Regions from separate parts of the Homo sapiens genome. Here all the other regions are linked to region 3. Evidence: promoter capture Hi-C in human tissues and cell types (Jung and others, 2019). All regions are on one chromosome and are shown on one strand. The core of a region is centred on a gene start or on the middle of the fragment in contact, and the rest is flanking DNA. Distances in the headings are between cores, read along the strand shown.

What was found. The method cuts DNA at HindIII sites, captures the fragments that hold promoters and counts their contacts. A contact is called where the count stands out against the background at its distance.
Region 1: a fragment that was not itself captured here is called in contact with the fragment with the promoter of CCIN in region 3 in 2 of the 25 tissues and cell types used here (IMR-90 fibroblasts and pancreas).
Region 2: a fragment that was not itself captured here is called in contact with the fragment with the promoter of CCIN in region 3 in 2 of the 25 tissues and cell types used here (aorta and lymphoblastoid cells).
Region 4: a contact is called between a fragment that was not itself captured here and the fragment with the promoter of CCIN in region 3, in 1 of the 25 tissues and cell types used here (hippocampus).

What each region holds. Positions count from the first base shown.
Region 1 is chr9:36,345,207-36,348,671 of GRCh38, reverse strand. The region is part of intron 9 of RNF38 (ring finger protein 38); the gene reads left to right. Among named protein-coding and RNA genes, the nearest start is that of RNF38, 53 kb to the left of the region's middle. The HindIII fragment of the contact is 5,567 bases long and covers 1-3,465 here.
Region 2 is chr9:35,933,308-35,936,893 of GRCh38, reverse strand. No RefSeq gene overlaps it. Among named protein-coding and RNA genes, the nearest start is that of OR2S2, 23 kb to the left of the region's middle. The HindIII fragment of the contact is 7,970 bases long and covers 1-3,586 here.
Region 3 is chr9:36,167,427-36,170,724 of GRCh38, reverse strand. It overlaps CCIN (calicin), which reads right to left and starts at 1,337. Exons shown (of 1, transcript NM_005893.3): 1 at 1-1,337. The coding sequence starts at 1,222. The HindIII fragment of the contact is 27,142 bases long and covers 1-3,298 here.
Region 4 is chr9:36,391,593-36,394,852 of GRCh38, reverse strand. All of the region lies in intron 1 of RNF38 (ring finger protein 38), which reads left to right. Among named protein-coding and RNA genes, the nearest start is that of RNF38, 7.0 kb to the left of the region's middle. RefSeq lists an enhancer at 2,589-3,089. The HindIII fragment of the contact is 3,014 bases long and covers 190-3,203 here.

The DNA.
Region 1 (3,465 bases), core at 868-3,367, 180 kb before region 3:
CTCTCTCAACATTGATAGAATTAAAGGACCTTGTTCTGGATTAGGTTTTGGCTAAAGAGAATGTTGTGGCTGGTTGGATTTTCTATCTGTATCACTCAGACTTTCTCCATATCAGCAATATGGCTGCTTTGCTTTCTTATTCGTGCGTTCACTGGAGTGACTTTTCTGTTTTCTTTTTGTTTGTTTGTTTGTTTTGTTTGAGACAGGGTCTTACTCTGTCACCCAGGCTGGAGTGTATTGCCACGAACTCCGCTCAGTACAGCCTCAACCTCCCAGGCTCAAGCGATTCTCCCACCTCAGCCTCCTAAGTAGCTGGGACAGTAGATACATGCCACCACACTTGGCTAATTTTTGTGGATTTTTTTTTTTTTCTTTCAGAGATAAGGTTTTGCCATCCAAGGCTAGTCCAAGTGTTGGGATTACAGTCATGAGCCACTGTGCCCAATGAGAATGGCACTTTTTCTATTCGAACTTTGCCTTTGCCTTTAGAACATGGTTACTGGTTTGGTGCAAGAGGCCTACATTTTGGCCTGTCTCCGCTTTGACATGCCTTTCTTACTAAGCTTAATCATTTCTAGTTTTTGTTTTGTTTTTTTGAGACGGAATCTCACTCTGTTGCCCAGGCTGGAGTGCCGTGGCGCAATCTCGGCTCACTGCAAGCTCCGCCTCCTGGGTTCACGTCATTCTCCCGCCTCAGCCTCCCGAGTAGGTAGGACTACAGGCGCCCGCCACCATGACCGGCTCATTTTTTGTATTTTTAGTAGAGACGGGGTTTCACCGTGTTAGCCAGGATGGTCTCGATCTCCTGATCTCATGATCCACCCGCTCAGCCTCCCAAAGTGCTGGGATTACAGGCATGAGCCACTGTGCCCGGCCTAATCATTTCTAGTTTTTAAAGTGAGACACATGTGACTCTTCCTTTCACTTGAACAATTAGAGGCCATTGTGGGGTTATTAATTGGCATAACTTCAATATTGTTGTGTCTCAGAGACTAGGAATACCGCAGGAGACGGAGAGAGATGGGCGAATAGCCAGTCGTTCAGTGGAGTAGTCAGAATACCCAACATTTATCAATTAAGTTTTCTGTCTTATACAAGTACAGTTTGTGGTACCACAAAACAAGTGCAATAGTAACGTCAAAGATCAGAGATCATTATAGCAGATATGAAAAAGTTTGAAATGCTGTGAGAATTACCAAAATGTGACACCAGGATATGAAATGACTACATGACTGTTGGAAAAATTGAATTAATAGATTTGCTCAATATGGGGTGGCCACACACCTTCAATTTTTTGTTTTTGTTTTAAAAAGGTCGTATCTGTGGCATGCAGTAAAGCAAAGCGCAGTAAAGTGAAATATGCCTGTGTAGTCTTTATACTGTAAGAACTTAACATATTCTGTCACAAATTGTATTTGTTGACCTTTGTGTACTAAGAGATATAAAAGATCATTATCAATGATATCATAAATTTTATCTAAATTTTATATATTGTAATCACCATCAATTTGGCAATTTACTTCCCCCCCCCCCCCCCCCCCCCCCCCCCCCGAGATGGAGTCTCCCTTTGTCGCCCAGGCTTGGAGTGCAATGGTGCAGTCTCGGCTCACTGCAACCTCTGCCTCCCGGGTTCTAGTGATTCTCCTCCCTTAGTCTTCCAAGTAGCTGAGATTACAGGTGCACGCCACCATGCCTGTCTAATTTTTTTGTAATTTTAGTAGAGACGGGGTTTCACCGTGTTGACCAGGTGGGTCTCAAATGCCTGACCTCAAGTGATCTGCCTGCCTTAGCCTCCCAAAGTGCTGGGATTACAGGCTTGAGCCACCATGTGTGGCCTGGCAATTTACTTTCTATTCCAGCATTTAGAAGGGCTGGGGAGCTAGTGAAAGGGGAACAAATTATTTAGATGACGCAATTATCTAAATAATGTTGACACAGAAGCAAAGTTGTAGTATCATAATAAAACACACAGTTATTACATTAACTGTTGACATTTGGGGAATTTATTTCTGTTTCTCTCATCTGTCATTATTTGTTACCCATTCTGTTAACCCTGGGCAACCTGAAAAAATGGAGAAAAGCAGTCCACAAAAGGCAGACTAATTGCGAGATAAACCAAATGAGTTATTAGAGTCATTAAGGAAAGGAGGTACTGGTGTAAAATCAATAAGCATAATAATTGGCTGGGCATAGTGGCTCACTCCTGTAGTCCCAGCACTTTGGGAGGCCAAGGCAGGTGGATCACTTGATGTCAGGAGTTTAAGCCCAGCCTGGTCAACGTGGCAAAACCCTGTCTCTACTAAAAAATAAAAAATACAAAAAATTAGCTGGGCAGCTACTCAGGAGGAGGAGGCAAGAGAATCGCCTGAACCTGGGAGGCAGAGGTTGCAGTTAACCAAGATCATGCCATTGCACTTCAGCCTGGAGGATGAAGCAAGACTCTGACTCAAAAAAAAGGGCATAATAATTACAGTATTGAAACACATCAAATATGTTAAAGTTCATGAGTTGATGGTGGATACTTCATAAAAGAAATTAGGTGGTCTCATTTATCCTATTCTACCTAAATTATTCTGAGTATTGTTTAATATGAGGTATTCTAATAAATGAAGAATGATAAAATAAGAATATTACTGTTTTGCCATTTTTAATGAATTAATGGATCTTGACAGTATTCCATCATTGGCTGCTAACATAACCAGTGGACACGATGGGTCTTATGGTATAAGTATTCACATCTCCCTATTTATAGGACAAGGGGGCAAGGGATTTGTTAAACCCAGTGGGTCAGGGATGGGAGGTTCATTTAGCAGATTTCAAACTGGGAATTTCTACAGCTCATTAACCTGGTTTCTTCAAATTTAAGAGTGAAAAAGAGTCTTGAGACATATTAGGCCATGGTAAGTTACGGATTTGTTTGGATCCTTATTTGAACAAACTACTTTTTAAAGTTTTGAATTGAAAACAAAGACATTTGAACGTTAATTGGTCATTTGATGTTAAAGAATTAGTGTTAATATTTTAGGTGTGATGATGTCATTGTGGTTATATTCTAAAAAGTCTATCTTTTTAGAGCAGCGATTCTCAACCTGGGGACAGTTTGTCCCCTAGGGGATATTTGGGAATGTGTGGAAACATTTTTGGTTGTTACAGCTAGGGGGTGTTAACTGGCACTGAGAGTAGAGGGAGGCCAGGAATGCTGCAAAACATCCTGTAGTCCCCAGGCCAGCCCCGACAACAAAGAATTATCCAGCTCACAGGGTCAAAGTTACTAACTTTGTTTTACAGATGCACTTGATACAAATGAAATGATACCATCTTTCAGTTTTGTTTTAAAATAAGGTGAGGTTTAGGATAGATTGTAATAGGTAAAAGATTAGCCATGGACTATTGACCTGCGTAATGGATAGATCAAGGTTCATTAATGTTACTTTTCTCCTTTTGTATGTGTTTAGATTTTTTCAT
Region 2 (3,586 bases), core at 780-3,279, 230 kb after region 3:
GGGATCTGCCCCTATGACCCAAACACCTCCCACTAGGCCCCACCTCCAACATTGGTGATCACATTTCAACCTGGGATTTGGAAAGGACAAAACATCCAAACCATATCAGGCTGATTAGGCTTGAGGAAGGGAAAACTGTTGAGTCTGGATTGAAAGTCATTGTATTAATAGGTAGTGAGGCTGATTACATGATTATATGAGGATTTTAATAATATATATAACTCCTGGATTAATACCAAAATACAACAGAAAGGGTTCAGATATAGTAAGTTTGGTGATTCTGAGATATGACTTTTTGCTTTGCCAAATACTAAAACTTCTATGTAGAAATTAGTTAAGTATAACCAATGAGTTTTGTTTTTTTTTTAATAAAAGTGTCCAATTCTCCTCCTTCTCCTTGTGCACTGTACTGCAGGGCCAATATTCATTCCATTTAAGGCCCATTTGGTCTCCTGGAAAGCTGGCCACAAATAGCTTTCAATAACACCTCTGGGCATACACCAAAGAAGTAAATCTGACTCTAAGTAAAATCTTGTAGCTTGCCAATATTTTCACCAGTTAGGAATTATAGGAATTCAGCCATAGAATTTGAACATAAATTGAAGTCTCCTTTTAGCCATTTTTTGTTTTTAGTAGAGACCAAGATCCCATTCATTGCCAAACGTTTTCATAGGCATGAATGCTTGTGTTTGATCCAGGAATAATAAATGATTGACTGTTACCCAGCAGCAGGGTGGGGTGGGATTCCTGGCACTTTTTTTTTTTTTAAGCAAAGGAAAAACAACTGAGCAGACATTTGCTCTTTCAACAGCGTTTTGTGAAAATGTAAATTAAAGAGACTAGTCTTTTTAAAATTATTTCCATAATCACAAATACGACTGTGGAAAGTCAAGACAATGCTGTTTTAAGTCAATATAAGTTATCTGACCTAGACGTCGCCATTAGGACTGTCAACTAACAAGGCATCTGTAGTTTGCTAACTTTTTTATCTTAATGAATTCTGAATTCAAATGTTTTCTTTTTAAATATAAATATTTGCTTTCGCTAAAGGTAAGTTGAAATTCTTGAGTGTTGACTTGAGTACGTACAGAAAAGATCAGTTTCACTGCCAGTAGCTGGGAAATCCATGGTTGGAATTCAAAAACAGCCAATGTATTATACATCATTACATTTCATTGTACACATTCCTATAATATAGAATAAAATTTAAAATTATTTTTGAATAAAACCTTGATTATAGGAATCACAAGAGAAAAGTTTGCCTCATTTAAGAAGTGCTCTAAACTAATAGCTCTCAAACATTTTGCCCTGCAGGTTAGCAAAAATGAAAAGACTAATCAGACCTAATATTGCTAAGTGTAGAAGAAAATAAGTAGAGTCATGCGTTGTTTAGACTGAGATGCATTCTGAGAAATGCGTCATTAGACGATTTCATCATTGTGGGAACATCACAGACTGGACTTGCACGAACCTAGCCTAATATATACCTAAGCTATATGGCATGGCCTATGGCTGCTAAGCTAGAAACCTGTCCAGTGTGTTACTGTACTGGACACTGTAGGCAATTGTAACACAATGGTAAGTATTTGTGTATCTAAACATAGAAAAGGTACAGTAAAAATATGGAATCATAAACTATGGACCATTGTCATATATGCAGACCACACATCATTGACCAAAACATACATACTGACCAAAATATCATTGTGCAGTGCATGACTATACACTTATACTTGGTGCTAATGTAAACTGGGCCAATTTTTAAAATATAATGCTATAATGTTAGATAGATATATAAGAAAAGTAGACTGAATAAGGAAAACTCAATCATATCCCAAGAAAGAAAACTAAGAGCCTAAAGGCCAAATAGTCCTCGGTTTTACAAGTTGAATCACCATGCATTTAATATTTTTTTAAATTTTTTATTATTTATTTATGTATTTATTTGTTTGTTTGTTTGTTTGTTTTCAGATAGAGTCTCACTCTGTCTCTCAAGCTGGAGTGCAATGGCGCGATCTCAGCTCACTGCAACCTCTGCCACGCAGGTTCAAGTGATTCTCCTGCCTCAGCCTCCCAGGTGGCTGGGATTACAGGCACTCGCCATCACGCCTGGCTAATTTTTTGTATTTTTGTAGAGATGAGGTTTCACCATGTTGGTCAGGCTGGTCTTGAACTCCTGACTTCAGGTGATCTGCCTGCCTCGGCCTCCCAAAGTGCTGGGATTACAGGCATAAGTCACCGTGCCTGGCTACCATGCATTTAATATGAACTTGCCAGATTCAGCAAATAAGAATACAGGTTGCTCAAATTTAATTTCAATTTCAGATAAACAATACTTTTTTTTTTGAGGCGGAATCTCGCTCTGTCACCCAGGCTGGAGTGCGGTGGCACGATCTTGGCTCACTGCAACCTCTGCTTCCCAGGTTCAAGTGATTCTCCTGCCTCAGCCTCCCGAGTACCTGGGACTACAGGCGCCCACCACCATGCCCAGCTAATTTTTGTAATTTTAGTAGAGACGGGGTTTCACCATATTGGCCAGGCTGATCTCAAATTCCTGACCTTGTAATCCACCCACCTCGGCCTCCCAAAGTGCTAGGATTACAAGAGTGAGCCACCGCTCCCGGCCAAACAATACTTTTTTTAGTATAAGCATGTCTATATACTTTGTGTCATAGCTATAGTTTAAAAAGTATTCATTGTTTATCTGAAATTCAGATTTTACTAAGCATCCTGTGTTTTATCTGGCAACTCTAATTTAACATAAAACAATAATGATTACAAGATAGGAAAGTTTTATCTTAGATTGTTGGTAAAATTCCTGCCCCAAATCTCTTCTTTCACATCCTTTACCCAGGGTATGATTTTCCAACTGTTGTCCTAGAAATTCCCTGGCTAATCTTGTTATTTTATCCTTATCCTTAGATCCATCTTACAATGTCCTCCAGTATCTCTTACTCATTTTTTTTCTTTCTTTTTCAGTCATAATTCTTTTCATTTTCAAGTTGCTGTTAATAGTTCCACGTACATTCAAGAGACAATCCTCTTACCCATCTCAAAACTAGGCATTACTCAATTTTCCTGGAGGAGGGTAAGAAGAAGCCAAATCCAGAACAGAGAGTACAAATAATTAACAGGCTTAATCTTTGGAGTGTCTCAACTGCAAAGGAGTAATTGTTTTCCTACCTACTCTTGTTGCTTTTACAGGTGAGCAGACAGGCTGGAACAGACAGGCAAGGAAAAGACTGTTGAAAAGATTGTTCCAAGAACATGAAATTTAACTGCAGTCCGATTTGTACAAATTCCATTTATCTTGGTTTCGAACTACCCCTCTCTACCACTCGGATCTTTGGAAGCTTAAATGGCTAGTTACAATTAAAAAAAAAATACAATCAAATGAAAAAACTCTACAGGAATTTAGACACTGACTTGAGAGTTAATTACACTACAGACTTATTGTGAAATGTTTGGGGGCCTAAGAATGGTATTGTGGTTATGTTTTTAATAAGAGCCTTTATCTTTTAGATACATCCTGAAATATTTGCAAATTAAACAATACTCCTGGAATTAGCTTGATAAGGTAGGGGAT
Region 3 (3,298 bases), core at 88-2,587:
TTCCTGCCAGGCACCAGACTTCCTTCCGCTCATCATAGCGATAGATGTTGGAGACATACCGCCTTGGGGCAATGCTCCCGCCCACTGAGTACACTGTCCCCCCACAGGTCACCATGGTGTGGAAGACAAGCCCGATGGGCAGGTCAGGCAACTTGGTCCAGGAGTTGTCATCCATGTCATACCGCCAGGCTGTCTTCAGCCCTGAAATCTGCTCAGTGGTGCCACCAGAGATGTAGATGTAGCGACCAGCAGAGGTGGCACTAAGTGCTGCTGCCCGATAGGGCATGTCTGAGAGCTTCATCCACAGGTTCTCCTGGATGATATAAGCAAACACTCCATCATTGAACTGGCCGTGGGCCTTCTGGCCACCGAGGATGACCACGGAATCAAGCAGGGCCCCTTTCCGCTGGTAGACCAGCAGGCTGCATGGCCGCTCCTGCTTGCGGTCCATCAGGACACTCTCAATCAGGGTTGTATGGGATGAGGTGTTCTCCATGCCCACCAGCTTGTTGCTGGCAAACACCAGCGTCTTATTGGAGACAGCATTGAGATTGATGTAATTGAAGAACTTCTTGAAATACTTCTCCCGATCCTCCTTCCGGAAGTACACCCAATTGATGAGTGCGCTGAGCGCCTGGTCTTCATTGAGCACGTGAAGGTTTTCATCACGGAGCAGGCGGCCAAAGATAACAGGTGGACAGCGCATGAAGTGCATGGAGCCCTCAGGACTGGCCCAGTAGTGGAAGTTGTCCCGAATGCCAGAGTAAGCTACGTCTGATACCTCTTTGAGCTCAAACAGCTCAGCCAAGAAGAGGTAGCGCAAGCAGTTGGCACGGCAGATGGACTTAATAAGGAAGTCGTTACAGTGAACTCGAAGGCGTGGTGTGTTGAAATACTGAGCCCCACGAAGCAGCTCCTCCACATTTTGCTCGGAGATCACCACCTTGCCGCTATAGAAGTAGTCCAGAAGCTGGTCCACTGTGACCGGGCTCAGGTAACTGGTGTCAATGGTGATGAAAAGCTCATCAGCGGTCTTCATGTCATTGCTGGAGATGAGGCTCCTCACCAGTGGGGAGACAGCAGCCAGCACATTGCGATGTGCAAAGAAGACGTGGTTGTCCACACTCAGGGCCATGTCCCAGTACTCTTTGCGTTTCCTCTGTCTGTTCAGGTTCTGCAGCACGAAGCTATTGTAGTTTTTCTCCGTGAATTCCAATTTCATGGTGCCTCTTGTCGGCTGAAACAGATCAGCAGCAGGTACTGGAGAGCAGACTTTCTCAGGCCTGTGGGATCAGATTGATGGTTGTTTGCAGAGCGGTTGACCAGGGAGAAGAGAGGGTGGAAGAGAGGATGATGTCATAGAGTGGATCAGGTCATCACAATGCAGGCCTCCCTGAGGCCTGTCTCAGAGGCACTGGGCCTTCCTCCCCTCTGATCTCTCCAACCTGCCAAGGCCACATACCCTAGCAGGACCTAAAGCCCTGGGCCCAGAGCTCAGGAGGAACCTCAGGGATGGGCGGCAACTTCCACCTGGGACTTTCAAACCGTAGTTAAAGGCTTCTGGAATATCAGAGCCAGTCTGGGTGGGGCAGTGGGGAGCAGTTTGTGTAGGAGAGATAAGGGGAGGTGGGGAAAGGGAAGAGATTATTAGACCTAGAAGAATCCTCCCATTTTGAGGGAAACTGAGGCCCAGAGAAGAGAAGGCACTTGCCCAAAATCACATAGCCAGTTGGAAGCCGAGCAGGGCCCAGAACCTGGGGAACCTCGCATTCTTCCTACCCTTCTGGAAGCTCCTGACTACCCAGCTTTCCCCAGTCTCTGACTCTCAACTCTCCAAGCACTCTTCCTGCCAAGGCTCCTGGGCATCAGAGAAAAGCTCTGTCCTTTGGCTTCTGACCTTGGTGGCCACAGACATCATTCTCCTTCAAAATGGAGAGGTGGAGGCCACTCCCTGGAGCAGGGATGAAGGAGTTAACCACAAACGGGGGCATGGGAGGGTCTTTAAAGACCGGATGATTTCAGCTCCTTGGCAAACTAGAATGTTCCCCCAACATTTCCAAGTGTCCAGTTGGAAAATGTTGGGGGCTTCAGTGGGTCAGCTTTCTCCATCAAAGGTGGACTTGGGCGAGTTGATCAGACTTTCTAAACCTCAGTTTCCTCCTCTGTGAGATGGAACTAATATTTGATAGTAGTACCCACTTCAAAGATTATTATGAGTTTATTTTTATTTTTATTTTTATTTTTTTGAGACAGAGTCTCGCTCTGTCACCCAGGTTGGAGTGCAGTGGTGCGATCTCAGCTTGAAACAGCCTTTGCAAAATTATGACTGAGACAGTGAAAGAGATCAACTTAACTGACTCCATCTTGCTTCTAACCTCCAAGCTGTCCTTGCTCATTCCTTGGCAAAGGCTGAACTAACTTTGGGAGAAACCTATATGTATAGTTTACGGTTTAAACAAAGACAGCCCTTTCCCAAAGCAGACCTCCTTCTTGCCTGGGGACTAGATTGCCTTTGTAGGACTAACATTAGCCACAAGATTAGAAATTATGGTTTAGGAGTCATGTAGCTGGAGGCTACAAGATTCTAACCCTCCCTAAACTGCTCCTAAGACCAGTGCTTGAGATTTCTCTTTTTTTTTTTTTTTAGACAGTTTCGCTCTTCTTGCCCAGGCCGGAGTGCAATGGTGCGTTCTCGGCTCACCACAACCTCCAACTCCCGGGTTCAAGCGTTTCTCCTGCCTCAGCCTCCTGAGTAGCTGGGATTACAGGCATGCACCACCACACCCGGCTAATTCTGTATTTTTAGTAGAGATGGGGTTTCTCTATGTTGGTCAGGCTGGTCTCAAACTCCCGACCTCAGGTGATCCACCTGCCTCAGCCTTCCAAAGTGCTGGGATTACAGGCGTGAGCCCCCGTGCCCGGCCGGTGCTTGAGATATTTTGCAGAACCTGCACTTGATGGATCAGCTGGCACCACTCAGATCAATAAACTGGCTCATCTGATCTTGTGGCCCCCAGACCCAAGAACTGACTCAGCCCAAGAAGACAGCTCCAACTCCCATGATTTCATCTCTGACCAATCAGCAGCACTCCTGGCTCACTGGCTTCCCCCTACCCACCAAGTTATCTTTAAAAACTCTGCTCCCCCAATGCTCCGGGAGACTGATTTGAGTAATAATAAAACTCCAGGCCGGGCGCGGTGCCTCATGCTTGTAATCCTAGCACTTTGGGATGCCAAGGTGGGCGGATCACCTGAGGTCATGGTTTCGAGACCAGCCTGGCCAACATGGCAAAACCCT
Region 4 (3,260 bases), core at 447-2,946, 220 kb before region 3:
TATTTTTAAGTACTAAAAATGGTTTTAAATAGGCCTGGTGGAATAGTTGATACTTACTAATCAAACTAGATTATAAAAAAGAATGTTACTTTAAAGTAGAAGGTGGTTTTGTGGGTTGAGTATGAACCTTAGAATTCGATAGACTTGAGTTCAGATTATGGTTTTGATATTTCTGAGGTATGTGACTTTAAGCAAGTCTGTTAAACCTGATGTTCAGTGTATAAAGATGGGAGAGCCCAGTTCAGTTTCTGGCATGAAGCTAGCTGTTACCAGATTGAGGCTTTAAAACCTGCTATACTGCTTAAATAAAAATGTGTTAATTTTTATATCTTTTGTAATCAAATCAGTGTAGCCAAAATTCTGGAGAAGAAACTTTTTCACTGTGGTACAATAATTTTTATTCAAGTTATATACATACACATTGTGTTTTCTGTAACAAATTACTACAAATTTATTTGTTTAAAACACAAATATTTCCTTACAATTTCCATGAATCAGGAGTCCTGGTATGGGGTTAGCTGCTGGGCCCCCAGGGTCTTACCTTGCAGGAGCTGTGATTTCTTTCTTTTCTTTTTTTTTTTGAGACAGTCTTGCTCTGTCGCCAGGCTGGAGTGCAGTGGCACGATCTTGGCTCACTGCAACCTCCACCTCCCGGATTCAAGTGATTCTCCTGCCTCAGCCTCCCAAGTAGCTGGGACTACAGGTGTGCGCCACCACGCCCAGCTAATTTTTGTATTTTTAGTAGAGATGGGGTTTCATCATGTTGGCCAGGTTGGTCTCTATCTCTTGACCTTGTGATCTGCCCGCCTCGGCCTCCCAAAGTGCTGGGATTACAGGCGTGAGCCACTGTACCCGGCCCAGAGCTGTGATTTCATCCGTGTCTCCTTCCAAGTTCACTGGTAGAATGTGGTTCTTGTGATTATAGGACTGAGGTCCCCCATTTCTTGCTGGTCGTCAACTGGTGACTGCTTTCAGCTCCTAGAAGCTGCCCTCAAGCCCCTGCCACATGGTACCTTTCGCATGCCTTCTCACAACATCTTAGTCTGAAGAATTGGCAAGAGAATCTCTTGGGAAGGACTCAGTTCTGCTTTCTCTGATTAAGTCATGCCCAGGCTCACCCAGGATAATCTGTCTTTAGCTTGAATTCACCTTACTTGGAATCTTCATTACATCTGAACGTCTTTCCTCCTTTGTCATATGATTTAACCTAATAATGGGAATGAAATACATCACATTCACAGCCCTGCCTGCGCACATGGGGAAGGGGGTTGTACAGGAGATGGACACCAGAGGTAATCTTGGGCAACCTATGTATGGGACTGCCTGCCCCACACACACACACACACACACACACACACACACACACACACACACAATGTGTGTGTGTGATTTTATTTTACCTAGTAGTAAAAATTGTACCTCATTTTAATCAAGCCCATCTATGGTTTTGTCCCAGACTTATTTTGAATATAGCTTTTCTCCATTATATTGGTCCATCCTTTTTAAGACAAATGGAGCCTCTGATCAAAGGAAACTGTTGTGAGTAGGAGAGGATATGCTTGAAAATTATGGCCACAGGGACCAGGTTGGCCAGTTTTTCATTTGTCTATGACCAAGATCTTAAGATTTCAAAGGAACAAGGAATGAAGGAGAAGAAACATAACCTTGATTTGTCTTTTCCCAGCCAGCTACTTGTACTAGCAATTTTGTAAGACTGCTTTGGGCATGATAGTTGAAGGCAGGATGGCCTTAGGATAACACGCTACAAAGGATACATAATGAGCAAATGAAAAGCTTAAGAGGATGCAAAAAGATTCCTACATAAAGAAGCAAACCATTTTGAGAGAGTGGCAAAAGCCCTCCTTAGATTGAGTCAGGAATGTGAAATACTCCTTTTTCTATGAAATCTTAACTCTTACCTTCACATTAATTCAGAACTCTTACTCCTAATTTTTCCCTGTTTTATGGCCTTTAAATATTATGTTACAGTTGGCTGCTTGCATCTGGGTTTCAAAAATTGTTAGAATAAGCTTCTTGAGGTTAGGGCCCATGTTTTTATATCTTATTAGATTAACAAATACTTATTTTTAGAAATTGTCTCACCATGTTGACCAGGCTGGAGTATAGTATTGCAGTCATAGCTCACTGTAACCTCAAACTACTGGGCTCGAGTGAAGCTCCTGCCTTAGCCTCCTGAGTAGCTAAGACTACAGGAGTGTGCCACCATGCCACACTAATTTAATTTTTTTAATTTTTATTTATTTACTTATTTTTTTGAGTAGAGATGGGGTTTTCTCTATGTTGTCCAGGCTAGTCTTGAGCTCCTGTACTCAAGCTCTTCTCTCACCAGGGCCTCCCAAAGGGTTGAGATTACAAGTGTGAGCCACTGCATTTGGCCTGTCTCTATATTCCTAATGTAATTCTTGGCTTGTAGGAGTCAGTCAGTAAATACGCCTTGATTCAGCAATGCATACTTCTGCGTAATGGTAAAGGATAGCACATTCATGTTTGTAGTATAGAGATCAGAACATTCTGTACAGAAAACTAATGAATTCTAAAGTTTCTGCTTTCAAGTGCTTTGTTTTTTACTTCTAGGTGAGTCTTTGGAAGTATTTTTACTCTTACCAGTGGGCACAGTTATCTGTTTACCAGGTCCATAGCAAAGCAGAAACAAAATACTATAAAAAGGCTAAGGAAGGTAAGGGTATTAATATATTAACAGCAGGGATATTAATAGCATTTCATTTTATGATCGGTTTCTGGCTGCTTCCTTACTATCTAGCCATACTAAACGTTTTGCAGTTTCCTGACTACACTGCTGTCTCTTGGCAGCTACTTCTCCATAGCACCTAGTGCCTAGCGTTACCATAATACTTACATCCTGCAGTGATTTACTTTTGTTTCTTTCTTATAGCATATACTTTTTGAAAGTAGGAAACGGGCCGGGCGCAGTGGCTCACGCCTGTAATCCCAGCACTTCGGGAGGCCGAGGCGGACGGATCACGAGGTCAGGAGATCGAGACCATCCTGGCTAACACAGTGAAACCCCGTCTCTACTAAAAATACAAAAAATTAGCCAGGCGGGGTGGCGGGCGCCTGTAGTCCCAGCTACTCTGCAGGCTGAGGCAGGAGAATGGCGTGAACCCCAGTGGGTGGAGCCTGCAGTGAGCCGAGATGGCACCACTGCACTCCAGCCTGGGCGACAGCGAGACTCCATCTCAAAAAAAAAAAAAAAAAAAAGTAGGAAACGATGCCTTTGT